4 separate regions of the Homo sapiens genome follow, and all the other regions are linked to region 2. The links are contacts of gene promoters, found by promoter capture Hi-C in blood cells and fetal thymus (Javierre and others, 2016). All regions are on one chromosome and are shown on one strand. Each heading gives the region's core, a stretch centred on a gene start or on the middle of the fragment in contact. The rest is flanking DNA. Distances are from core to core; before and after follow the strand shown.

What was found. The method cuts DNA at HindIII sites, captures the fragments that hold promoters and counts their contacts. A CHiCAGO score of 5 or more calls a contact.
Region 1: a contact is called between the fragment with the promoter of FBXO48 here and the fragment with the promoter of ETAA1 in region 2, in 1 of 17 cell types (fetal thymus). The highest score is 5.8, in fetal thymus.
Region 3: a fragment that was not itself captured here is called in contact with the fragment with the promoter of ETAA1 in region 2 in 1 of 17 cell types (M0 macrophages); the score reaches 5.2 in M0 macrophages.
Region 4: a contact is called between a fragment that was not itself captured here and the fragment with the promoter of ETAA1 in region 2, in 1 of 17 cell types (M1 macrophages). The highest score is 5.2, in M1 macrophages.

What each region holds. Positions count from the first base shown.
Region 1 is chr2:68,462,943-68,469,423 of GRCh38, reverse strand. It overlaps FBXO48 (F-box protein 48), which reads left to right and starts at 2,130. Exons shown (of 4, transcript NM_001024680.3): 1 at 2,130-2,213; 2 at 2,954-3,280; 3 at 4,246-4,584; 4 at 5,054-6,481. The coding sequence starts at 4,279. The coding sequence ends at 5,215. APLF (aprataxin and PNKP like factor) reads right to left here and starts at 1,839. Exons shown (of 10, transcript NM_173545.3): 1 at 1,597-1,839. The coding sequence starts at 1,692. RefSeq lists a silencer at 1,555-1,764 and enhancers at 1,106-2,000, 2,001-2,896, 2,990-3,049. The HindIII fragment of the contact is 4,492 bases long and covers 869-5,360 here.
Region 2 is chr2:67,394,213-67,400,716 of GRCh38, reverse strand. ETAA1 (ETAA1 activator of ATR kinase) reads right to left here and starts at 3,384. Exons shown (of 6, transcript NM_019002.4): 1 at 3,046-3,384; 2 at 1,420-1,548; 3 at 1,091-1,167. The coding sequence starts at 3,268. The HindIII fragment of the contact is 4,361 bases long and covers 1,780-6,140 here.
Region 3 is chr2:65,660,096-65,666,947 of GRCh38, reverse strand. It overlaps the pseudogene KRT18P33. Among named protein-coding and RNA genes, the nearest start is that of LINC03050, 61 kb to the right of the region's middle. RefSeq lists enhancers at 291-340, 431-480, 3,319-4,518. The HindIII fragment of the contact is 2,206 bases long and covers 3,294-5,499 here.
Region 4 is chr2:65,611,879-65,618,633 of GRCh38, reverse strand. No RefSeq gene overlaps it. Among named protein-coding and RNA genes, the nearest start is that of LINC03050, 13 kb to the right of the region's middle. The HindIII fragment of the contact is 1,954 bases long and covers 2,313-4,266 here.

The sequences.
Region 1 (6,481 bases), core at 881-3,380, 1.1 Mb before region 2:
CGACAACACAAAGAACAAGCTACAAATAATGAAACGGTCTGCAATCTGTTGCCATGTTTCTAAACCACGGCCCTAAAATTCATCCACCTTTTAACCAGACCCACAGTACTCTACTGGTGACAATTTCTTAAGCAAGTCAAAACTCGTTAGTCACCAGACATATGATTACTAGATTAAGCACATACTCTTAAGTTTCAAACCTACGAATTTAAAAGAAAAATAAAGCCTCCAGACAGTTCCTTCCAGTGTTTGTATAGGCCAACAAACGATGAAAAAAATAGAAATGATGTTAAATATTTAAATAATCACTTGTCCAGTAAAAAAATGAACAGCAATTGAATATCTACTTCCTCAATAACCTTACCACATGCACATGTGCATGTACACAACACACAACACACAACACACACACACACACACACACACACACACACCCCTTTAGGACCAGCTTCCATAATACAATCTTAAACTACCACTCCTTTCCCTGCTCCCAGAAGGGACCTAAGGCAAGTACCAATGGTTCCATTTAGACTCTGGAAGTTAACCAGGACAACAGTACACACTCCTTACTCCTTGGTGTTAGCTCACTGACACAGGTGTCTCCCCGGTCCCAAGAGAAAACTCCTAAAGGGTAGGGACCCATGTTCCATTCATCTTTGTATGCCCCACAGTGCTAGAATCTGCAAAATGTTCTACACAGTGAGCACCAAACAAGAAATGTTGAATGTTAAAGAACAAAATAGAAAACTAGATGTACTTAAGAGATCTATAGAATTCCAGAATGCAATATGCAAATGTTCTTATTCCTAAACCTCTCCCAAAGAAGGTAGAGAATATTTAGCTTTGTGGCATTATGTGTCCAAAAGCTTATGTATGGACTTTAAATAATGTATGTATGGCTCAATTTTCTCATCTGAACAATGAGGATAATAAAAATAGCTAACTGATACGGTCTTGAGACAGTTAAAGATGTTGGTATAGGTAATGTCTCCTTAGACCAATGACACGAACGCTATACACATTACTTATGAAGGGTTAGCTACTCATTTTACTGGAAATAATAAATAATATAAATAAATAAGGTCCACACAGCTCTGCAAAGGAGACCAAAGGTTAAAAGAAATTAGCCTAGAAGACGTAATATCACAGTTTGGCAAACTTTTCTGTAAAGGACCAGACACTACTGTAAATATTTTAGGCTTTACAAGACAAGCCGCAATACCCTCAACCCTTGGAGCAACTATTCCCCCTGAAAAATTAGTAGATTTTTTGTTTACATTTTACATTTCAGAATTTAAGAATCATTCTTAGTTCATGGGGCCATACAAACATAGGCTGGATTTGGCCCCCAGGCACTAGTTTGCCAATCCCTGGATAAGATAATAATGGTAATACAGTCAGTGTTTTAAAAGCAACATAAAGAAATGTTTGTGAATTGGCTTAAAGGTAACTGAAAAACGTGCGGCCCCAAACTTCTAAAATCCGGACCGGCGGACCAGTGCGGTGGGGAAACCGGCCAGGACTAGGGCCGGTCTTCAGGAGCCGGCGCGGAACTCCACGGCTCTCGGGGTCCGCTAAGCCCCCGCCCACACTTACTCCCAGCAGCGGCCCGCGGCCGATCACCGTCTCCCCGGGCGCCAGGGCCACCCGGGGACCGCCGTCCCGCGGCTGCAGCTCGAAGCCCCCGGACATGGCGGGCAAGGATTAGGCCCCTTCGCCAGGAGACTGGCCCCTCCGCTGTTTCCGCCCTCCACAGACACGCGCGGGGCAAGCCCACGCCCTGGGAAAAAACACCGAGGGAGGGCCTCAAAGGCTCCCCGCGGCTGCGCCGGTCCTCTCAGAGCCCGGCCCCAGCGCAGCTTCACGAGTCCCGCCCCTCCACGCCTACTAATGACGCAACCGGGGATTCCCCAGTCTCGCCGCCTCAAAACTACTGTTTAAAAACCCCGGCTTATTCCCCAACACCCTTTTCACCTCCCTCCCATCTTGGAGGACGCCGGGCCTTGTAGTCCTGGTGGCTTTCTTCACTTCCTTTCCCGAGCGGAGACGCCCTGGAAAAAACTACCAATCCCCAAAGGCACTGCGCGCCCCTCTCGGCGCCTGCGCGAGTTCTGAGCAGGGCGGGACTCAGGTGGGCGGGATGCGAAGAGCTATGGGGAAGGATTCGAATTCCGGTGGATTTAAATCGCGGGAGGAGAAGCTACCGCGGCCTAGTAGGTAGAAGGGTCTTCCGTTCCCGTTGGCTTAGGTGTCTACGCTCCCGGGGACGCGGCCTGGACGCAAGCTCAGCCTTCCCTCCGCGGCCTGGAGCCGCAGTGACAGTCAACGCTGACGGTTGTTGTCACTTGTCAGTGCCCTGTGTTCTTGGGTTCCAGCAGCTGCAACCCGCGCGGGACACAAGGAGGGTGGCTCAGACGGGACGTGGGGTGATTAGCCCTGACCCGCGGGATTTGGACGGAGTGGGGCTCCCCGCCCCTCCGACTGCGCTGCCGCCGATCTATCCCTCCGAATGATAGTTGAAAGGGGGACGAGCTTTTACTTCACTTGAGAGAGAATTCAGGAAAGCTCAGTTCATAAAGGAGAAAGGGCAGAAGAGGGGTCGTTTCCAGGCATCCAGGCGAACCTGGACGTAGAAGAAAGATTCCTAGTGGGATTTTAGAAACTCGCAAAGGTATCCCCTGCTGTGAAATTCAAAAGCCTTCATTCCCGTTACAGGAATTCCACAAGGGGACGCATTTTATTCTCCCAGTAAGATCCTGGGAGAAGTGGATAAACACACTGTAACGTTTAAATGCACTGTAACGTTTTCCTAATGTGAGATTCTTTTCAAGAACGTTGTGGTTTGGCTTTGGTTTGTATTGGTGGTGGGAGGGGCCAAGGTGCATGGCAAAAACTTGCTCTTGACTCACCCGTTTTTACGTTTGCTTTCTTACTTCTCCTAACCCTCAAGAAGAAGACCTCTGTTGAACACAGACTGCAGTTCCAGCCACCACAGCTAATCTGGATCATGAATGGGAGCCACCGTGGTCTTGGCAAGTCCGAAAACATAGCTGAGTAGCTCGTCTAGAAAAGAGATTTGTGTTCAGCTGAGTTAAAAGAAGTATTTACCTCAAACCTCTCCTCTTGCACAACCAACCCCCGTTATAAAAGGAAGTGCAAAATGGAATAAACTGATTTTAAGTGAATACAAGCTGTCTTTATATACAAAAGTAACTCAAGGATGGTGATGTACCCAGTCATGCTTTCAACTGATTTGGGAAGCCTACACCATTCACCTTAGGTAAATTAGCTGAAACTGAGCTTTAAATCTGGGCTTCAAAGAGTCACATACTGTACCTAGCTGAGTTCTAAACATTGTTTACAGTTGTCACTCACTGTTGCTTGATGTCTTCAGTGACTATTATCCTTAGCTTGTAATTATGCATGTAGGATAGCTTCAAGGGGCCATTTCTAAAACACTACTCTTATGACTGAGTTGAATATTTGAGACTTTGTTTCATAATCCAGATCTCATCTTCTTGTCCATTTCAGATAGTAGTTGTGTCAAATGTAAGCACCTACCTACCTATAAGATACAAGTAGATAAAATTCTTATATAAACAACTAGAAGTCCAGCAAGTTTATGATTAAGTCACAAATTGCAAATTAATGATGAGGCATCAGTTCCCATGTACAACAAGTATTCAGGAGTTTAATAGGATTGACTCATATACATTTTCAAAGGTACAAAAGTACCGGGTATGGTGGCTCATACCTGTCATCCCAGCACTCTGGGAGGCTGAGGCAGAAGGATTGCTTGAGGACAAGAGTTCAAGACCAGCCTGGACAACATAGCAAGAACCATTTCTCCGTAAAACAGTTTTTGGTTTTCTGTTTTTTTTTTTTTCTTTTTTTTTTTTTTAAAGAGGGGCGGGGTACGCTGAGTCAAGAGAATCGCTTGAGGCTGGAGTTTGAGGCTGCAGTGAGCTATTATGACACATCTGCACTCCAGCCTGGGTGAGAGTGAAACTAACATGTTGGGTGCCTCCCATGTGCAATTCAGATGTAGCAAGACTAGATATTTTACCCACTATCACTGTTAATCCTTGCAAGAACTTTCAGGAGAGCGGCAGCATTGGCCCATTTTACAGATTGAGAAGCTAAAGTCAAGAAAGAGTTCTTAAATTATACCCAAAAAGCATCTGACTTAAAGTAGGATTTATACTCCTATTTGGAGACTGAGCATGTTTAAATTTTGCCTTTTAGGTTACATATGAGGATAACTTAAAACATTAAGCTATGCATAAAAACTCCAAGAGAAACAATAATTTAAGAGTTTCTCACACAGAAGCGAACTCTGTGGATGCTGAGAAGGAAAAAAATGAGAGTCAAAACAACTTTTTTGAACTGCTGCCTGCAGAAATCACTTTTAAAATTTTCAGTCAGCTGGACATTCGGAGTCTGTGCAGGGCTTCATTGACATGCAGGAGCTGGAATGACACAATAAGAAACAGTGACTCTTTATGGAAACCTCACTGCATGACTGTAAGAGCTGTGTGCCGAAGAGAAATAGATGATGATCTAGAAAGTGGTTATTCCTGGAGGGTAAGTTTAATCTTTGCGATCTGCAGTGTTGTTGACAGCGTTATGATAGCAGGTTTGCGCCAATTCTAACTTCTGCTTGGAGGAGTCAGAATTACATATGCAGAATAACACAGACAGTGTGTTGACTCTTGGAAATGAGTTAAAGTTATTAGTCTTTTCCTGCTAACCACACTGTTTCCACACTATCTTTCATTTATCCTTTTGCATTTTTAAAATTCTAAATTCGGGAATTTTCCTGCGTTAACCAGAAGGGAATTAGCTCCTTCTTTCCACTTCACCTTATGCCACTCAGTATAAATACACATATACATACACACACGTACACAGACACATACATTTATTAATGTACGTATATATAAATGTAAATACTCTTTTTTTCAGCCCTGTCAATCTGCTTCTCTTGCTTTAAACACATTCACTAACCAACCACCTACTACAGTCTTTTTTAACGGTGATTTACCTCTTTCAGGTGATACTGCTGAGGAATTACCAGAAGAGTAAAGTGAAACACGAATGGCTAAGTGGCAGATACAGCAACATTTGTTCTCCCATTAGCCTACCAGAAAAAATCATGTACCCAATGGATGCAGATACATGGGGGGAAATTCTAGAAGCAGAACTGGAAAGATAAGGGGAAAAAAAATCACAAATCTCAGGTCTTTGAAAGTTTAAAACTTAAATGACTCTTAGGTTGCAAAAGCGATATCTTTATTCGTTCATTTTGTTGTTCACCTTTTTAAAAGAAAATGAAATGGAACTATTATAAAAGTAAAGCTTTATTTTTGTTTTGCACTTTAGTAAAATTTTTCTGGTTTTATTGTAATGTGGAAAAATCATGAAATGTTATTTTTATAAGAAATAATATACTGATAGAGTGATTTCCAAATACAATGTTTCATGTATTTGTGTTAATATATTTGCAATACTAAATGTAAGAGTGATTTGTATGTTCAGCTTAATGATAATTCAAAATTTCAGGAAGCCACTTTAAACTGACTTAAAGATTCATTAAGTGGTGGTTATAACTAGGCTCATGGGAAGACTAGCTAAGTGAAATTAATAGCAATACATTTAAATTAATACATTGACATTTTAATGACTTTAACATTTCTATTTCAGTGGAATCAGATTGAAATGTCAAATAGTGAAACTATTTTTAATGTGTTAAGCCTGTGGTTTAGTTTTAAGTTAATGTCATCTCAGGGCTAAAGTTTGTCCAATTGAGATTCCCATTAATTTTATATAAACCTGGAACGGCTCTCAGGAGCTGAAAGTAAGTGGAAAGTTTCCAGAACACTTTACCATCAGAATGCCACACTAGCCTGGTAAAACTCTCTTTCTGACAGCCTTATAGCACCATCTAGTGTGCTATTCTTAGATAGCAAGACAAAGGACTTTCAGCTCCTTTTTGTTTTCTCCATATTAAAAAGAAAACTGTTATTCTAAAGAATCCTTAACACTTGTCTTTGTTAAAGTTTATAACTTTTTAGGAACCTTTATTTTAACTTTTAAAAACTTTTGTTTCTCTTTTTTCATAAAAACAGATTATATGCTACTCACTATAACAAATTGTTTATTCTGAATCTGTGGTTACCACCATAGTAAAAAAGTGTCTACAAACTGCTTTAGTTAGTGTGGGGTTTTCTTCTTAAAAACTGTTCTCTATAGCATTAAATATAAGAATCCAGGAAACCAATATTTAACAAATAGGCAAATATTAGAAAGATGCCCCACTATATGCAAATTCTGTATGTTGAATCAAGCAGTAGATAATTAATTGTCTCCTACTATCTTCTTAGAGTTGGAAGAGTCCTTGAAAATCAGGCAGTCAAGTGTCCAGGACTATTCAGTAATTTTCTCAATAGGAACACTGTCAGTCAGCCAGCCCAAGCTGAAA
Region 2 (6,504 bases), core at 2,135-4,634:
TCAAGCGCAGGTTAAGGAAAAATGGCATACTTCCTTCAGAGAAGACACTAAGCAAAAATGTTCTCTGGATTTAAATGTTAAATAAGAAAAAGAGAACAAAAAGTAAAGAAGTTCAGAACAGTTTCACGTATTGAGCCTTTGCTTCTTAGTAATTATAATATTAGAGTTACTGGATTGCTTTGTGTCAAATGATTGACTTGAACATATTTCTATTTCACTCAAACAATAAAAGAACAGAAATGAAAAAAAGAAACGAAACACTCAAAAAAAAATTTTTTTTAAGAGACAGGGTCTTAAACTCCTGGCCTCAAGCAATCTTCCTGCCTCAGCCTTCCTCCCAAAATGCTGAGATTACAGGAATGAGTCACCATGCCTGTCCAAGAAAAGAAAAAAAAGCTTTGGAGATGGTTCTATTACAGTAACAACCTTAACGTAACCTTACAATTATAGCACTCTATAGTTTACAAAGAATTTTTATCTAGTTTAATTCTCATAATGATCCAATGAAGACAGCAAGAGCAACACAATAATTCTAGTTCATGGCTGAATGAACTGAAGTGGTGGGAGTTTAAATAACTTGCACTGGGTCACACAGCATAGGAGGTTGAATGAGGACTAAATTTGAATTCAGTGCTCTCCACTTTTGTAAGTGTTTCTTGATAATCTTATAAGGAAATGAGTATTAATAGTTTCAATGGGGAAATGTTACAGACAGGAAGTACCAATCACAAAACAATCATAGAAGTATAAACTTTTTTCACTGCCTTATTCTATTATTTTAGCAACTTGAAAAATGATGTCGTATGTTGTTAAGCACAACATTACAGATAAACACAATGCCCTAGTCAAAAATTACTCTAAAAAATTAAAACAAGATATATACTTAAGAAAATATCTTGTATTTTATATTATATTCCTTTTTTCAAAATATGTATTTCAAAAGTAGAAAAGGCAAAACAGTAATCTTTGCTGCCTTATTTTTGGAAAAAAGAATTATAATAGACAATACTTTTCATTTAAAGAAACTACAAAAACTTAGTGGCACATTCTTCACTGTTTTAAAACAAACTGTAAAACTAGTGATATTTACCTGAGGAGCAATACGATTAACAATATGTGAAATCTCATCACTATCTGTGGTGTAAATCTGTTTTTTTCTTCCTTTACCTAAAGAAACAAAGACATTTCTATAAATTTTAAACAAAAAACCCTCCATTTTAAAAAACAGCTGTCACTTCTTAGAAAGTAATTTTATTTAGTGCAGCTTAGAGGATTATGTGTTTACATCACATACTTATACAGATAAAATCATATAACATTCTCAGAGGTTCCCGATGCTATTATCTGACTAGAATTCTAGTTAAATCTGAATCATTTATCAAATATTTACTCACATAAAAAATGTTAATAATTAATTACCTAACTGCTTTGTCAATGGAGAATTCTGATCCCAAAAGATATCATTCTGTCCATCTGGATCATTAGGAGAACTGAAGGAAGATGACAGTGAGTCCATTTTCAGCGCTCTCTTTGGTGTTTCATACCTTTCTATATAAAATATGAGTAAAATAACAATTGTTGCATTTTAAAGCATTACCTTACTTCGTAAGACCCCAAGGTCAAATAGCTGAGACTAACTTTTATAGTCCAAGATAATTTTTTTTCCCAGAGATAATTACCTGAACCGTAACAGAAATGCTTGTTTCACATAAAAATCCACGCGGCACTTCGCAAACTTCACATTGTAAATAGCAAACACTTCTAGATAATCCAGAAGCTTTATGAATGCATAATACAATACTGTATAACCTAAGTCATTCTATTTATTACCATTGAGTCTTGGAGGCTTTGGGGAACCATCTGTAATTTATAGGTACATTCAAAAATCCAAAGTAACCCAACAGAAACCTAAATATGTTTAGCCCCCTTTCACCAACTCTATCTAATCTACATTAATTGCCATTCTTCAAAAACCATTAGTGATCCAATGCTTGGGAATTTTTGTCTAGAATCACTTTCAAATTTTTATAAAGATTTTTGTTCATTCCCAAATTGCTTTATAGGAGTATTATTAAAGACATGTAAGGTGGCCGGGCGCGGTGGCTGTAATCCCAGCACTTTGGGAGGCCGAGGCGGGTGGATCACGAGGTCAGGAAATCGAGACCATCCTGGCTAACACGGTGAAACCCCTGTCTCTACCAAAAATACAAAAAATTAGCCGGGCGAGGTGGCACACGCCTGTAGTCCCAGCTACTTGGGAGGCTGAGGCAGGAGAATCGCTTGAACCCGGGAGGCGGAGGTTGCAGTGAGCCGAGATTGTGCTACTGCACTGCAGCCTGGGCGACAGGGCGAGATTCTTTCCCAAAAGAAAAAAGACACGTAAGGTATAAAAAAAAAAAAAAAAAAAAAAGCACTATTTCAAGAACATGCTCCAGAATAAAGGCTTTTGTATGAGTTTCAGTTCCAACTAAGATTTACTAGAAGTCTTTTAAAAAGTAACACCTAAAACTAATCGAGACGAAAGAGATCCTTAGTATCTTATTTGGAGGGATGTTACACACAGGAACTTCCGGTTTATTCACAATGAGGTGAGACATCTACCAGGCTTTGAGACAAACTTTAACTTTTCCTATGAACTCTTCTCTAAAGCAGGTCACAGGGAAAAAAAGGGTTTAAAGAGAAATAACTTCTCCGGGCAAAAACTGAGGTTAGCGGGCCTATCAGCTGTTTCTTCTCACTCCACCACTGCTGCTGACTGGAGGAGCAGCCTGGAAAGCAGCCGCCCTCCCGCAAACAGGTAAACCACATTACCTATTCCTGTGGCGGAGGCAAATGGATGGTCAAACCTAACGGGGTAGTGCTGAAGTTCGGGGACAAAAGCCCATCGGGGAGTGGTATAGGATTATTTTTGGACTCTCGAGGGGTGAATCCCAGAGACAGAATACACGCTCCAGACTCCACCCCCACCCCAGATTTCCCTGTTGCAAGCTGGGATGTGGGGATGCGGCGCCGAAGCCAAGGCAGGCCGCGCTGCCGACGTCTCACCCTCGGGGTTACTTTTACTGCACAGGGCGGCGGTCGGAGGCTGCTCTCGCTGCCGCACTGGCCCGGGAGGCCCCTCTCTAGCCCCGCAGGGCCACGAACCGCGGGCCGATCTCAGCCGCCTCCTCCCTGGCTCGACCACCGAGCCGCATTCCTCCGCCGCCACTGTTTTGTGCGGCGTTTTCTTCGGGCTAGGGCTGTCATCATGTTTCCTTCGCCGACTCATTGCCTATGGCCCGCCTCCACCAGCCGCTTCTTCTTTCACATTTTGCAAAGGGATGAGTAGGGCAACAGCACTACAAACCGCACCCCGCACCAACGGCAGCCGCCATTTTGGTCGGTGGGGCGCGCGCAAGAGGCGGCCGCTGATTGGCTGGGTCCGGGAGAGGGGCGGAACTGTTAAGGTGCCGAGGGCGCGCGCACTTCCGCAGCCGGGACAGGAGCCTGCTCTGGAGGAGTGTCTAGGCTCAAAATCCTCCAGACTGGTGGGGGTTGTTCGGGTAGTAGTCAGGTCCGCGTAAACTGAGAGTGGGAGCTTGTGAGTTGGAAAGATTGAATACACTAGCAACTTTTTATTGAATTTACAACGAAAATTGCACGTTAGTCAAATTCAGATTATTGAGAGTCTTCGAATTTCTCAAGAAGAGGAAATACAGTTAATTTTTCATAGATGCTATGTGCATAGAAAAATCCAAAAGAAAGTAGAAAAAATTACTAAATTAATTTAAGAGTTGCTGGATACAAAGTCAATATTCAAAGATCAATGTGTTTCAATAGATTAGCAACAGATATAAAATTGAAGTTTTAAAGAGATACTATTTATAATAGTGCATGAGATAGCAAGTAACTAGGAATAAGTTAAAGATTGTCCTTCCTACAAAGAGAACTATAAAACATTTTTGAGGCCGGGCGCCATGGCTCAAGCCTGTAATCTCAGCACTTTGGGAGGCCGAGGCAGGCGGATCACGAGGTCAGGAGTTCAAGACCAGCCTGACCAGCATGGTGAAACCCCGTCTCTACTAAAAATACAAAAAATTAGCCGGGCATGGTGGTGCGTGCCTGTAGTCCCGGCTACTGGGGAGGCCAAGGCAGGAGAATTGCTTGAACCTGGGAGGCGGAGGTTGCAATGAGCCGAGATTGCGCCACTGCACTTGCAGTGAGCAGAGATCGCGCATCTGCATTCCAGCCTGGGCGACAGAGGGGGACTTCGTGTAAAATAAGTAAATACATACATACATACATACATACAAAAATTAGCCAGGCGTGGTGGCGGGTGCCTGTAATCCCAGCTACTTGGGAGCTGAGGCAGAGAATTGCTTGAACCTGGGAGGTGGAGGTTGCAGTGAGCCGAGATTGCGCCACTGCACTCCAGCCTGGGCAACAGAGCAAGACTCCGTCTCAAAAAAAAAAAAAATTTTTTTTTTGAAAGAAAACGAAGACCTAAATAAATGGTTACACTATGTTCATGGGTTGTGAGACTCAATATTGTTACAATGTCAGCTATTTCCAAACTGACCTATAGATTCAACATAAATACATATGAAGGCCCAGTGTGTGACTGTGTGTGTGTAACATGGTAAGTTTTTTCTAAAATTTATATGAAAATGCAAGGGACCAAAAATATCAATAAACTCTTGAAGATCTCTCGAAGAATAATGAGGGTTGATATCTACCAGGTATCAAGACTTATATGGTAATTAAGACAGTGTTATGATGGTGTCAGGATAGACAAAGATGAAAGAAACAGGATAGCACAGAAACAGACTTCCATATAAATGAACACGATTTAAGACAAAGGTGACCCTTCTGAGCAATGGTAAAAGGACTTTTGAAATTAAATAGTGCTTGGTCTATTTGATGTTCATGTAGAAAAAGAAAGAAACATGACCTTTACCTCAAACTTTATCCCCAAATCAGGTGCATATATATTCATTATAAATTTAATTGTAGAAGATAAAATAACATTTTAGAAGGTATAAATTGTCTTCATGACAGAACGCATTTGAAATAAAACAAAGGTCACCAGGCATAATTATAAATGTGACTACACAAAATTGATAATTTGAGAACTTCTGTCCATTCAAAAACAACATTAAAGAGAAGGAAGGGCAAGGCACAAATTGGGAGAAAATATTTATAAGACATATTTAAGGGCCTATATATAGGTTATATGAAGAACTGATACAAATCACTAAGGAAATGATTGACTGTCAAAACCAAAAGTGGATGAGACCCTTGAGCAGGATCTTCACAAGAGAAAATATTATCAACAAACTTATGGAAAAATCAGATTCATTTTTAATCAGGAAAATGCAAATGAAAACCATATCAGAATGGCTAAAGTTAAAAAGACTGACAATATAGGTATTGAGGCAGTAAACCAATGGAAGCTGTCACGTACTGCTGGTGAGAGTATAATTTGGCACAACCACTTTGGAAACCAGTTTTTGATCTAGCAATCCCACTCTGAGGAATATTCTCTGTTTAAATGCATGGACTTGTTCATCAAGATACAGTTTATAAAAATGCTTTGGTGGGATGCAGTGGCTTATGCCTGTAATCCTAGCACTTTGAGAAGCCGAGGCAGGTGGACTGCTTGAGCCCAGGAGTTTGAGACCAGCCTGGGCAACATGGCGAAAACCCATCTCTACAAAAAATACAAAAAATTAGCTGGGCATTTTGGCGCATGGCTGTAGTCCCAGCTACTAGGAAGGAGAATCACTTGAGCCCAGAAGTTGACTTGCTGTGAGTCATGATTGTGCCACTGCATTCCAGCCTGGGCAACAGAAAAAAAAAAGAAAAAACAAAGAAGAAGAAAAATGCTTTTAGCAGTAAAATTCAATTCAAAATTACTTCATACTGTAAGTGGACCAAATGCTTTCCAACAGTAGAATGATAAATATATTGAACTATATTCACACAACAAAATAGCAATGAAAATGAAAACTACAACTCTGTGCGACAACATGGATAAATCTGACAAACATAAAGTTGAGCAAAAAAAAGCTAGACCTCCCAACCCTCCTCCATAATGTTAAATAAATCCCATATAAATTCCATCAGGCAAAGTTCTACTATATTGTATAGGGATGTAAGCTTTAGTGTTAAAATGATAAAGAAAAATCTAGGAATGATTACCATAAAGGTCAGGATAATAGTTACCTTCGGGAGGGGGAAGGGACAGTGATTAGAAGTGGACAGAGGGAGGAGAGAATTTCATGTATTTATTGGCTTTGTTTATTTTCATGTTCTAGTTGTTAATTACAAAAGTATTTGCTTTGTGGTAATCTACTGAGCTGTACATTTTGTTCATTTTCTACACACATGTTATATTTATCAATTAAAATGTTTAAAATGTTAATGTAAGGCAAAGATCTTAGTTCCTACTGAGGAGCTGATATATTTCTTCTATCTTGTAAACTATTCTGTTTTTACTCTTTAATTTTGCTGACAGAAATCCTA
Region 3 (6,852 bases), core at 3,147-5,646, 1.7 Mb after region 2:
AGCAAGATGGGCATTGTCGACTTGCAGAACGATGCGGGCATTGTCCACAGTATTTGCGAAGATCTGAGCCCTCAGGTCCTCCACGGTCTTGAAGTAATGGCTCCAGTCTCTGACTTGGGGTCCCTTCTTCTCCAGGTGCTCCCGGATTTTGCTCTCCAGCTTCCGATTCTTGGTATCCAGTCTCCTCACTCTGTCCAGGTAGGAGGCCAGGCAGTCATTCAGGCTTTGCATGGTCTCCTTCTTGTTCTGGATGTCTTCCATCCTGCCAGAACCCTGGCCATCCCCACGGCCAGGGCCCCAGACCCCATGCCACCCCAGAAGCTGGTGGAGGGGGACATGGAGATCTGGGAACCAGAGCCCCCAGCCCCTGCAGAGATACTGGTCATGCTGCTGACTGGCCGAGCGTCTTAGCTGGGCACCTGGACAGAGCCCAGGGACTGGTAGTTGGTGGAGAAGGTGGAGCGAGTGGTGAAGCTCATACTGTCCAGGGAGGAGAGAGAGAGGACAGAACTCAGGCTTTACCAGTGACAAATAGTGGGTTTTACAAGATGGAAGTTTATTTCTCTCACACATGCAAGTTTCAGTAGTCAGTGTGTGTATGACTCATCAGGGGCCCAGGCTGCTTCCTGCCTACTGCCCAACCTCCTCAACATGCTGCTCCCACTTCTGCGACCAAGATCTCAGCCAACTGCCTTCCATCCAGTGGGAAAGCGGGTTGAGAAGAAGGCCATGCCACCTCCTTTTAAAGATATTTCCTGGAAGTTGCCTACACTGCATGTACCCAATATGCCATTGATCAGAATTTAGTACCATGACAATGGGTTTAGTCTCATGGTGGGTAGCTGTAAGGGAAACTGAGAAATGTTGTCTTTATTCTGAAAAGCCACGTTTGCAGATGAAACTCACTCTATCACTGTAGGAAAAAAAATGGAAAAAAAAATTGGGGGACAACTAGTGTTTCTGCCAAAGTGGTATTTCCCCTCACCTCAAACCTGGTGGAATGAGCTTCCAGGAGACAAAATGGAGCTTGTTCAAGGTCCCCTGAAGTCTGTGCGGTACCAGAGGGTACTGCCAGAACGCTGGATGAATGAGCCTAAAGGGAAAGGGTGGGTAGCAGGGCTGAAAGCAGAGAGAGGAGAGGAGGGCCTGCATGACTGAGGGAGAGCCAGCCTGGCACCCTCTTAAGGGACTTTGTCTAAGATGGCCTCCTGGGGGCCACTGGGACACAGCAGAGTCTCTCTGTGTGAGTCAGATTACTGGAAAACCAAAGAAACTGCAGATAAGAGACTCCCAGAGATGAAAGGCAATCTCCGAAGAATATACAAATTTTTACTTCTGTCCCCAAAGCAAATCAACTTCAAACTTCTCCCACAGCCAGAAGAAGCCATGTCAGGTGGCATTGATGCCAGTCACATGAGACCCTCCCAGCCATTACCTGTCCTCCCTTCCTACCCACCCCAACCTCAGAGCAGTCGGCAACATCGGTGAGCAAGCTGGCTAGGAGGAAAACACTTGTAAGGTCAGGTGAGAAGTCAAGGCTTCCCAAGTCTTTCTCCCTAACTCAGAATTGTAGGCAAGAGAAAGAGAACAGGAGAGGTTTTCATTTTAAATAGAATTGGAATTTTTCATGATTTATCTGGAATTGCACATTCCATTTCTGTGGTTCTCAACCCTGTCTATCCATCTGGAATTCCTGGGAAGCTTTAAAAATACTGATGTCTGGGCTTCATCCTCAAAGATTTTTTTTTCCAATCACCAAAGATTCTTATTTCACTGGTCTTGGCGGTAGCCTAGGCATCAATATTTTTTAAGAGCTGCCCGGGCAATTCTGATGGGCCACCTGGGTTGAAAACCACTGTGATAATATTGAATTACAAACATTTTTGCAAACAAAAGATCCTGGAGTAGCCAGAAAAGTGATGGAACTTTCTCTAGATCTGACCCAGGGAATGGAGAGCTAACCCCACAGCCCAGGCTTAGAAGGAAAGGATGACAACATTTTACAACTGCATCTGCAGAAGTCCTCACTTTCAATCTAACAGTTATATAAATCCTACCTCTGCAAAATCAGAAGCCTCTTCTGGGCAAAGGCCATGACAGGATTCTATGGAGTCTGCACACTGCACCGCACTTGCTACACCCATGGCAAGAGCTTAGTATATGCTTGTTGTCCTGTTGTTAACCTCTGACCTCCATGCTGGGATAAATCAAAGTGTCCTTTCTGATGCACTAAAGGCAAACTAAGGTGACTCCAAGAGAGCCTTAAACTATATCTTGGAACTAATGAAGAAGATTAAAAAATGCATAAGATATAGTTATTATTATGAAGTGGCTAGAAATCTTCTATCAACCTATGACCAAATTCCATGGCCCAGATTATGACTTCTATATTGAAATTGTCCCACATTTAAGCAAATTGTTGTCTCATTAACCTAAGGAAAGGTCTTCCAGAAGGCTAAAATCACCAACATTGCATTGCAGATTTAAGGAGTAGGCTTTGGTGTCTAGGAATGCTTGAAACCTACCCAGTTTAGTGAAGCTGATCCAGTTGATTAAGCCAGAACATACCCCTCCATCTCTGTCTCATTCCCACATCTCCTAACCTGAGGTAGAGGGCAGTCTCACTGTTCACACCATCACCACAACCACCATCCTCAGTCATGGGGAATCCCGCCCCACTAAAAAAGTCAAGGCACAATGACAGAATGCAGGAAAAAGCCAAGAACTTGCAAAACCACCAGCTGACCTCCAGGAACAGCTTTAGTCAGCCAACCCAAAAATGTCACATCCCAAAGTAGAGGCCTCCAGCATCAGGATTCCACCAGAGATGCTTCTCGAAATGTTCTTGATTCCCCCAAGCCCATGTTTATTGTACAACTCCATCAAACAGGCAGGGGCTGATTGCCTAATGCATCGTACGCCAAGACTCGACACTTGAGAAATCACCTTTTCCTGTGGGTGGATCCTGAAGCTTGGTATCAAGAGAGCCTCCTTTCCATAACCTACAAAGAAAAAGCAAATACTGTGAAGCACGTGCTAGTATGAGAATGGGCCTTCTCCATCACTACCTGTTGTCTTTTGTCTGATTCAAGGACTTTTTTTTAACCTAGAAATAAAATGCATTCCACCATGAGACCGAACCCAGAGAGAAGTCTGCTTAAACCACATTTGATGAAAAGAGGTTTTCAATCCCAATATATTTTTCTAGACTTTTTCCAGCAGAGAGAAGCCCCCACATGAAAGATAAGTTCAACCAGAGATGAAGTCCCTTGTTCATTCAGACACGAAAAGCTTCACCCTGTTGCCCTCCCCTGCAACATTATGTTGCAGGAAGGTCAGTTACCTTCCAGAGGGATCCATTTAAAAAGTTCTCCCCGATACTGGCAGTGCTGTTTGCAACGTCCATATTTTACCCTTTAGAAGCCCCACTTGCCATGCATTCTATCCTGGGTAGTTCCAACAGCACCAAGCCATGAGCCCCCATCTTCAGTTTTAATCAGGCATTAAACACTGGAACATTAGACAAGCGAAGCATTTGATGATGACGATAACGAGTGGCCCATTAAAGGTAATTTTTTTTAAGTTAATGAGTTCTCCCCAAAGAACAGAGCCACGTACTGTACTGAAAAATGTCTGTAGGACGTACTACGCTTTCTCGTTATTTATTTAACTTTATGTGGATGCCATAAAATTTCTTTATTTGCTTTCAGTTAGCCCATAGGTTTTGACAAGATAAATTTTTATTTAGGTCTTTGCCCAGCTACAATCAAAAACAGGAGACTCACTTTCCAAAGCCAGGCTGATAGATGGATTAATCAAAGTACTCCCCACCCTCCTTTCCTTCCAGCAACCACAGGGATCCACAGACGGAGTTTTTCCTTAATTAAAGAAACTCAGCAACAAGATGATTTATCGATGATGAATCTGGCAGGCCTTTTCATTGTGCGGTTAATTTTGGCCACTGTTTGAAATTTACCAACATAAATAAAGCCTCTCCATGACTAAACAAAGTTAAAGTAGCAATAAATTGAGCCTCCCATGTACTCTGGGCTAGATCTGAAGTCAACATAAATACCAGAATGCCTTGGCTGTGACACGCTTGATACGATGACATCATGCACTTCCAAACAGATACAGCCCAGCCCAAGCCAAAATGAAAACCTAATACAATTCCCCTAAATGAATCAAATTGCAGCGGTCTAGACTCGGCTGCACCAAGTATTCAACTTCCTTGTTCTCCGCTGTCAAGCAGTCGCATTAAAAAATAATCTATACGCTGTTCTAAATTTTGCTTTTTCTGCATGATTAAATTTTGGCAGGAGTAAATCTCTGTTATTCTCACTCCCCAGGAATGTTTGGAAAGTTACTAAAAATTCAGGATTTATCAGCTTAAGGTCCACCTGCTGTGACGGGATCCTGCAGCCAGCCTGCCGCTACCCTCAGCGGGACACAGGACACTGAGTGTTCATACAGGAAGAGGGTGAAACTCTGCTCACTTCACAGAATGGCTCAATGCTGGCTTCTCTCCCAAGGGACTTGCTCTGCCCACATCTAGCAACAGGCTGTCATGAAAGCCTTCATGAAACAAGAAAGTCAGCTAAACAGGGGCTCAACGCCCCCCAGCCCTGTTACTACTAAGAGATGAAAGGGGGAAGAAACCTTTCAGAACGCACATGCAGGACAGCGAATTAAAAATGGAGAAAATCTAATAACTAATTGGTGAAACCATAAAAGCTGCCATAAAAGACATTTTCCTTAAACTACTTTACACAGGGCTGTATAATTTTATGTCACTTTTTATTTATGTTGCCGTAATGAAAGCTGCTCTGGGAGCTGAGGAGCTTGGGAAGAAAGAAATTGAACTACTTTTAAAAAGGAGGGGAGAAGTCCAATTATAGGGCTTCGAACAAGATTCCTTTTGAAATATAGCTGGACTGGGGAGGAGAACCTATTTACTTCCAAAAGCCTCTGAGCAAAAATGTTTGCAATGAATAACTTTCTTCCACCACTATTTTCTCTACCCCGAAGGACTTAATTACTTAACATTCATAAAGTGGGTTTGATAGTATTTCACAAAACAAGGGCTGGGCACAGCGGCTCATGCCTGTAATCCCAGCACTTTGGGAGGCCAAGGCAGGCAGATCACTTGAGGTCAGGAATTTGAAACCAGCCTGGCCAACATGGCCAAACCCCATATCCATTAAAAATACAAAAATTAGCTGAGCGTGGTGGTGCACGCCTGTAGTCCCAGATACTCAGGAGGCTGAGGCAGAAGAATTGCTTAAACCCGGGAGGTGGAGCCTGCAGTGAGCCAAGATCGTGCCGCTCTACTCCAGCATGGGTGACAGAGTGAGACCTTGTCTCAAAAAAATAAAATAAATTAAATTAAATAAAGATAGTATTTCACAAAACTAGGATGTGAGCTAGGTAGACCAATGCTATTTAGACTCATCTGTGAAACCAGGCTTTTCTTGTGTCTAATAGATAAAGAAGCAAGCTTTGAGCACCTAGAGGGATTCTTATAAAAATGAACTCCATTTTGGCAAGATATTGATGAATTTACAAAGCTCCATAGGACATTACAATGCCATATTGAAGGATTCTAGATAGGTACTGTTTATTATGACCCAGCAGATCAGACAAGTTCTTTTCCCTTATTTGTATATGATGATTCAGGGAATGTTACACCATTGAGAAAAACAGAATAAGGTGCAATACAGAAAACCTTGAATAAATTATAAATAAGAGAAATTTAAAATAGTATATGTTCCCATAGAGAGGCATGAGGGGGCTTTTGGGGTGCTGATGATGTTCTATTTCTTAATCTGGGGCCAGTTGCTACAATGTATTGAGTTCATTAAAATTCACTGTATGCTTATTATATGTGCTGTCTTATCTATATGTACATTATATTTTAATAAAAAGCTTTTTAAAGTGGCATATGTTCAGATGAATCCCTTTAAAAAGCTGCAGAGTGAGTAACATGCATACAAAAACACAGAAGTGCTCTATGATTTTCCCAGAGAAAACATAGATCACCCGTTAAAATGCAGGGGCCCTCTGAACTCTGGCTAACTTTCAAAGCAAGATGAGGTTGTTTTTAGAAACAATTTCCCATCTATTAACAATGAAATCCAATTCAGCTTCGAATATTAGAAAGTGAAACATATATACAACTCCGAGGGACTGTTGAAGTATCAAACAGATAGGGCATTATTTAGGGAGGCTCAACAGTCAAGGCCACTTTACACCATTACGGACCAGACTAAACAAACCTGACCCGCAGGGTGACCCTCCCAGGATCCCAAAAGATTGGAAACTCCGAAAAGGCAGCCCTGACCAGACTTTACAGCCTGATAATGGCATGCAAACAACACTCCATCTCTGTCACGCAGCCAAAGGTTGGTGTTGTATATGAGAGCAATTTCCTCAAGAATTCAGAGAAAAATGTGATACTTTCCCTTTTATGTATGGGGCTCATAACAGCAAGTGTATTTACTCATCGGGGACACCCAAACCTCCTGATGAATGCCCCATCAAATCATTCAACCCAATCAGTGGGTGGTGGCAGGGATGTCAGATGCAGGAGGAGGGGAGAGCCCACTCGTGCAGATCAGGAAAAGCCTCATTTGCAGGATGTTTTAAATGCTGAAACCATGTACAGGGAAACACCATTGAGATTCACAGTCTTCCCTGGGAGGCAGGTTTCTCTCTCTCTCTCTCTCTCTCTGTGTGTGTGTGTGTGTGTGTGTGTGTCCCCCTCGCTGTCCTCAACACAGGCAATTCTTGCTGGTGTGGCTCCGAGCACCGAGGTCCAGCCTGCATTTGTCTTTTTCTTTTTCTTTTTTTTTT
Region 4 (6,755 bases), core at 2,040-4,539, 1.8 Mb after region 2:
GCAACCACTGAGAAACAAACAAAACAAAACCAGAATCTGTCTCCCAAAAGTTAACATTATTACTGGTCAGGAGAAAGGTTGGACATTTGGTCAAATTCCTCTAAGGTTTTGCAGTTCCCCATTATTAAGAAGTCCTGCTTCAGGAGCACAATGTTAACTGGTTCAAAGCTTTCATATATATATATATGTGTGTGTGTATAATGATTTTACCATTTAAGCTATAGAAGACAGCAACCACAAAATTGAAATTCTGTCTTTCAAAGGGTTTTACATACTCTCTAACTGAAAACAGCTTCACAATAAAATGATCCAGTTTTACAAGTAAGCGCTACCCAAAATAGTAACTATGGCCTTAAGGGCTATTATCTCATTGCTATATGAAGGATTTAGGGCATATAAATGTCCATTAACACAACTAAGCATAATAATCTGATTTATAAAGTACCCCTTGCCAGGGCCTTTGTGGCACCCTACAATTACACTGCCCCAATTAAAACATCCTAGAAGCCTAATAGGCTTACCCCGAAAGAAACAGCCCTGTAAAAGCATGACCCACCCCACCAAAAAATCTTGATGGAGGGGGTTCTACAGCAAGGTGGTGGCAGCAAAGAGGGTTTTTGGATGGAAAGGAGAGCATTTTAAATGTCTGATTCCCATGCTCAAAGCCTGCCAAAGTAAACAGGAGCGATAGTAACCCCAAAGCAAAGAGGCATTACCAGTATGATTGTCTGGTTGTCCATCTAAGGCCGTCCTAGTAAATTTGGCATTTGCTTCTCACAAAAGAACACTTCTGGGTCCTAAGCTTGGGAAATCCAAATGACATTTGCAGTTGGAAAGCAAGAAGAACTCTTCTGTTCCAGAGACCTATTTGGAGCATGAAATTTGAACACCTTCTCTCAACCTTGGCCCAAGTCAACCCCAAGTTGCTCAGCTGAAATTTGCAGAGTCTCAGCCACTTGTGTGTATGTGTGTTGGGGCAGATGGGGGTGGGGGGTCTCATCTGTCTTGACTACTCTTAGATAAGTCTATCACAACAAAATGGAAATCCGCCTCTCAAAATTTACCCTTCATTCCTAGATATCAGTGGACAAATGAAATTTCCAAAAAACATAAGAAGTTACTAAAGTAAATGTCTTCAAAGTTGGCTCAAAGCTAATCTTAGTGAAGAGTGAAAACTGCCCCCTGACTATACTGTAGAGAAAAGCATGTAGCAAAGGAGAACATTTCTAAAAATCTATTCACAGATAGGCAGAGGCAGCCATCCAATGCTGTGTCCCACCCACCACTTAACTCATTCACACCAACTTAGCAAAGATACTATTAATACTAATACTCAAAATGCTGGTGAGACTTCAGCCAGACAAGTACTCTGACACTACCAGTAGGAGGGTCAATTATTTGAGCCTCTCTAAAAAGCCATCTCTCAATAGCTACCAAAAGCCTTTAAAATGCCTAGATCCTTTGATCCACTGGAAATGTATTCTAAGGAAATTGGCAAAACATGTTCAAAGAGCAAAGCATACTAATGCTCCCTGTCACATTGTTTAATGTAGAAAGAGATGGGAACTGATTCAGCAATAAGGGAAGAATCATGTAAATTATGGTAAATCCATAGGCAAAGTATTGTAAAGCCTTTAAAAGTTATGCTTACTGAGAAACACAAAATAAGATATGAATAAAATGAAATAAAAACTGTATTCTTGGGTAGGAAGTCTCAGTAGTGTAAAGATGGTAATTCTCTCCATCTTAGTCTATAAATTCAACATAATCCCAATCAAAATCTCAAAAACAGTTTTGTTTGTTTTGTTGGGAAAGTACAAATTTAACAAAATGATTCCACGGTCATCTGGGAAAATAGGCCATGTGAAAATAGCCAAGAAATGTGTTTTAAAAAGAAGATTAACAAGTATAGTCTAGACCTCACTGTTATAAAATATGTTAAAACTATAATAATTTAAACAATAAGGAACAAATGTAGGACTAGAAAGAGTAGAAGGTTCAAAGGAAGCCAAGTCATATATAAGAATTTAGTATATGATAAAGGTAGCACTTCAGATCACAAGAGAAAATATAGATTATTCAACAAATGGTGTAAGATAACTAGCTAAATGTTTGGGGAAAAGTTTATGCCAGTACCCTATATTACATTTTTGTTTAATTTAAACATGAAAATAACATGCTCTTATAACATGAAAATAATAACATTTTTTAAACCGGTAAAGGAAAGACAGGGGAATGGTCTAAATTATCTTGGAATAAATTAGACTCTTCTTAACATGAAATAAAATAATTGAGAAAAAAACTAACAAGCTTGAATACATAAACATTTTTAACTGCTGTAAAAACACCATAACAGTCAGAGAAAGACAAAAAAAAATTGTGGAACTACTTCTATCACATACAACAAATAATTTTCTTAATATCTAAAGACATAAAATGTATCAATTAGAAACTTATAAATAACATGATACAAAAATATACAAAGTATGTGAACTGCAGTTTATAGAATAAAAAATACGAGTGGCTAAATGTGTGAATAAATGCACAGACTCACTTATAATGAATGACATGTAAATTTAAAAACAGTGAGATTATTGTTTGTTTGGTTTTATGTGTGTGGTTTTTCATTTTTTGTCCCCATTATTGATAAGAGTATGGGAAACCAGAAAGACTATGCATAGCTGATGAGAATGTAAATGCATAAACATTTTTGGAGAGCAACTTGTCCATATCTTTTAATACTTTACATGTGAACCCTCCCTTTAGCCCAGAATTTCCATTTCGGGCATTCATCCTACATAAACACTTGTACACTAAAACATATGTGCAAAGATGCGCACAGAAATATATGCACAGAGATGCCTGATGCAGCATTGTTTATAAGAGGAAAAAAAAAAGGCCTGGGCATGTGGTTTATGCCTATAATCTCAACACATTGTGGGGCCAAGGAAGTATTGCTTAAGGCCAGGAGCTTGAAACCAGCCTGGGCAGAATAGTGAAGCCCTGTCTCTACAAATATATATAGATATATAGATTTTTTTTTTAATTAGCCAGGCATGAGCCTATAGTCCCAGCTGCTCAGGAGGCTGAGGCGGAAGGATCACTTGAGCCCAGGAAGTTGAGACTGCAGTGAGCTGTGAGTACACCATTGCTCTCCAGCCTGGGCAATAAAGTGAGAACCTGTCTCAAAAAATATATATAAAAAAGGGAAATCACTTAAATAGCTATCAATAGAAGTTTGGTTAAAGATGAGATTTTCCTAGAATGGAATACCTAGCAGTAGTTTAAAAGAATAAGGTGGATTTGTATGTAGTAACATAAAAGATGTCCAAGATATAATACGTGCAAAAATGTCGCAAAACTGTATGAATAATATGAACCCACGTTTTCTGTGCCTGTACATGCAAAACTAATGTCTGAATAGAAATATAAGAAATTGCTAAAAAGGAGTTACATCAACTGAGTGAAAAAAAGGAGAGAAGAGGAGAGAGGATATTTACTTTTCATATCTTCAACTTTTTTTTTTTTTACAATGGCATGCGTTACTGTTGAAATCACAAACTAATAAAAAATAGTTGAAGTTTTAAAATTAAAATTCAAGTATTTTAATATTTGCCAAGACTCTTTTAAAGATCCAGAGAAGTACTTATAATGTAGCATAAAAGGAAAATCCAGATCATGTAATTATAAAGTATGCTCTAAATTATTTTAAAATTTATATGTAAATATGTACATGTAATAAAATGCTGGCAGGAAACTTACCAAAATGTTCATGGTAATTAATTCTAGTACTAATGTTTTAACATCTTTTTTTATTTACTCATTTATATTTTTTCAAGTTTTCCAAAATTAATATATAATCAGAAAAATAATTTACTGAGCAATTCAGAATTTGCTTAGCAAATTATTATATGTCCTACACTAGACTAGGAATCAAGGGCAGAGAAAATGTGGGACATAACTGCTTTCCTCAAGCAATTTACAGTTTCACAGATGAATCTGTACCTATGGCTAAAACATTTGTACATATAGAATCCGTACATGTTGCGATCAACAGAGAACAACAATGAGCCAAGTGATAAGCTGAATCTTATCAAAGGTCAAAATGTATGAAAGAGACAGTGTGATTAATGGGACAACAGAAAGGGAAAAAGAAACACATGTCCCAATTATTAGCACCTCCGTAACCAGACAACCAGGGAAACAGCCTTGGGAAATAACATTAGAACTGTCTTCCAATGACAGAGTCAGAACTATACACAAGCTTGATTCTGGGCATTAAGAGGCTCACTTCCTCAAAACAATGCCTTTGCCACACACTGATATCTAAAATTTTACTTTAAAGATTTATCTCCTTTTTTCATACTCTCTATCACTCTTAAAAAGCAAATGGATCTCGAAGTGCCAACACTTGACACTGGATAGGACCCCTCCAGGCTTCTGGTGCCCATGACAGACATCACTAGTCAATCTCCGCACTTCCTTGTGAAAGAATCTCAGAATCTTTCTCAGCACAACACTGCAAGCAGCTACAACCCACTGAGCAAAGCTAGGATCTGAGTAGAACACTATTTGCCATCCCTTATTAAAGTGATTGTAATAATAAACTCACATTTGAATAGGAGCTGAGAATTTACAAAGCTCTGTCACATCCATTATCTCATTTGAGCTGGTGTTGTTTTCTTTATGCCAAAATTGAGGATTTAAGAGTATCTGCAAATTGTTCAATGGCCGCTCTTAAGAGGTAGGCCCCAGATTCTAATGGGAAACACAATCTTTGTTCCAAGTCCACTTCTCTTCCTTCTCTTCCTCTTAAACATCAGTCTAAAAGAGTTGAGCCTATGCTATTCTGAGAGCCAGTTTGGGGAGGGGAGAGCATGAGGATCTTAGGAAGCACTGGGTCTCGGGAAAGAGCATCCCTGAAAAATGCAGGACACCAGAACCCAGAGACTATGGGCACAGGACATCATAATTTTGCAAAAAGCTAGTTCTTTCCCCTGAAGAGAGCAGTAAATATATTCAGGTTCCCACCTACAACTGTTATCTCACTGGAGTTCAACCAAGAACCCCATTAAGTTCAAGAACAATTCCAACCATATGAAAATCTGACAGGTACTAAGATGCACAGATAAGTTTCCGTGCCTTGGGCTCTGCGGCCTCATTCTTGCCAGTTTCCCTACAGCCTGCTGTCTGTTCTCTAGGTTGGGGAAGACCAGAGCCAGCCTGATGGTCCTCCCAAGGTCTCCCCCAAGTTCCAAACACCCAGTGGAAAATGCACAATCTACCAAGTCATTTTCTCCTTTGGTGCTTCAAACGTGACTCTCAGATTCCCCTGGGCAGCTCCATGATCATCTGAAGCTCCTCTCATCCAGCTCCATTTGGAGGCACATGAAGGTTAACTTCCATAAGCAAGAGGTCTGCCTTGCACAGACCTTGTGTGCACACGCGTTTGTGTGTGTGTGTGTGTGTGTGTGTGTGTGTGTGTGTCCAGGGACACCCATGAACTCACCCTCCAATCCAATCCAATATTAAAAGTGCAACAGTCCTAAAAGGGTTTTTTAAACACCAGAATTAGATAGCGTGTTGAATTTGAGGTTAACATATGGATTTTTGACTTTAAAAGGCTAGATTTTCACAACAAACACACGTTGCTATAGAGACGGCATAAGCCTATGTAAACTTCAGGCATTCATATTCATAGAAACTCCTGAAGCAAGACCAAATGTTGGCCCCAACATTCCTGCTCTTGCCAACTTCCAAAGAGTGCACAAATTATGCCAAAAATAAATGGGTGTGACTAATATAAGCTTAGAACATTTTTCAAAAATTTACCTTAAGGGCAACATTTGTTGATCTAGGAGCTGGGTGTGTAAAGCCTACTTCCCCCTTCCATAAATCCATCTGTTTTATTTACACTTCCTAAAAGACCTGCATGCACATTTTTTCCATAAATTGTACAACTGCTAGTAATCACGTATCATCTCAATCTGCGCCCCAGTTCTATTTTAACACTATGTCTCTTCCTTTTTGTTTGTGTTCCATTAAGCACATACTAGAGGCAAAGCAGTCAAGACTTAACCCTTCCATTCCCAAATACACACTCCAGGGCTGCCGAATTGGCCACAAGCTTTTACATAGGCGACAATTCCCAGGTCTACAAGCCTGGGGTAAATCCTATTACAAAAGCTCAGAGATGTCAAATTGGTTTCTGCTACTGACCTTCTTTCTCGCGACCCCTGCCCCAACCCTCCAGGCCCCAATCCCAAATCCCTCATTTCTCCCACACCAAGGTCAACCTGTATGACGACTGAGCTCTGCCCTGAATTTGCTCTATCCTGTGGTGGATACTTGCTGCTAATTACTGTAGTCACACTTCTTAATTCAACAAGCGCCAGGCGGCTGCCCGCCATCTCCCCAGTGGGATGGGTCGCTAGCTATCTCACGCAGGTCACTAAGTCGGCATTTATTTCCTGATAGGAGATGGCGTTACAAGGTAGCTGTTCCAACATGAATGGTAATCAACAATAATTAAAAGTGATACACCTATTCTGACTCATATGATAGTGTTAAAAAAAAAAATCCAAAAAGGGTGGTGGAAGGAAGGGGGAGAAAGAAAGAGAAAATAAACTACTTAGCCAAAGCCAATAGGTTTTTCATTTCAACTTAGAATTTCTGGAAAATGCTTGCTTCTGTTTCCTTTTAATTCATGCAGAAGGAGTACTTCCACACTGCAACCACAGTGAAAAGCAGTGAAT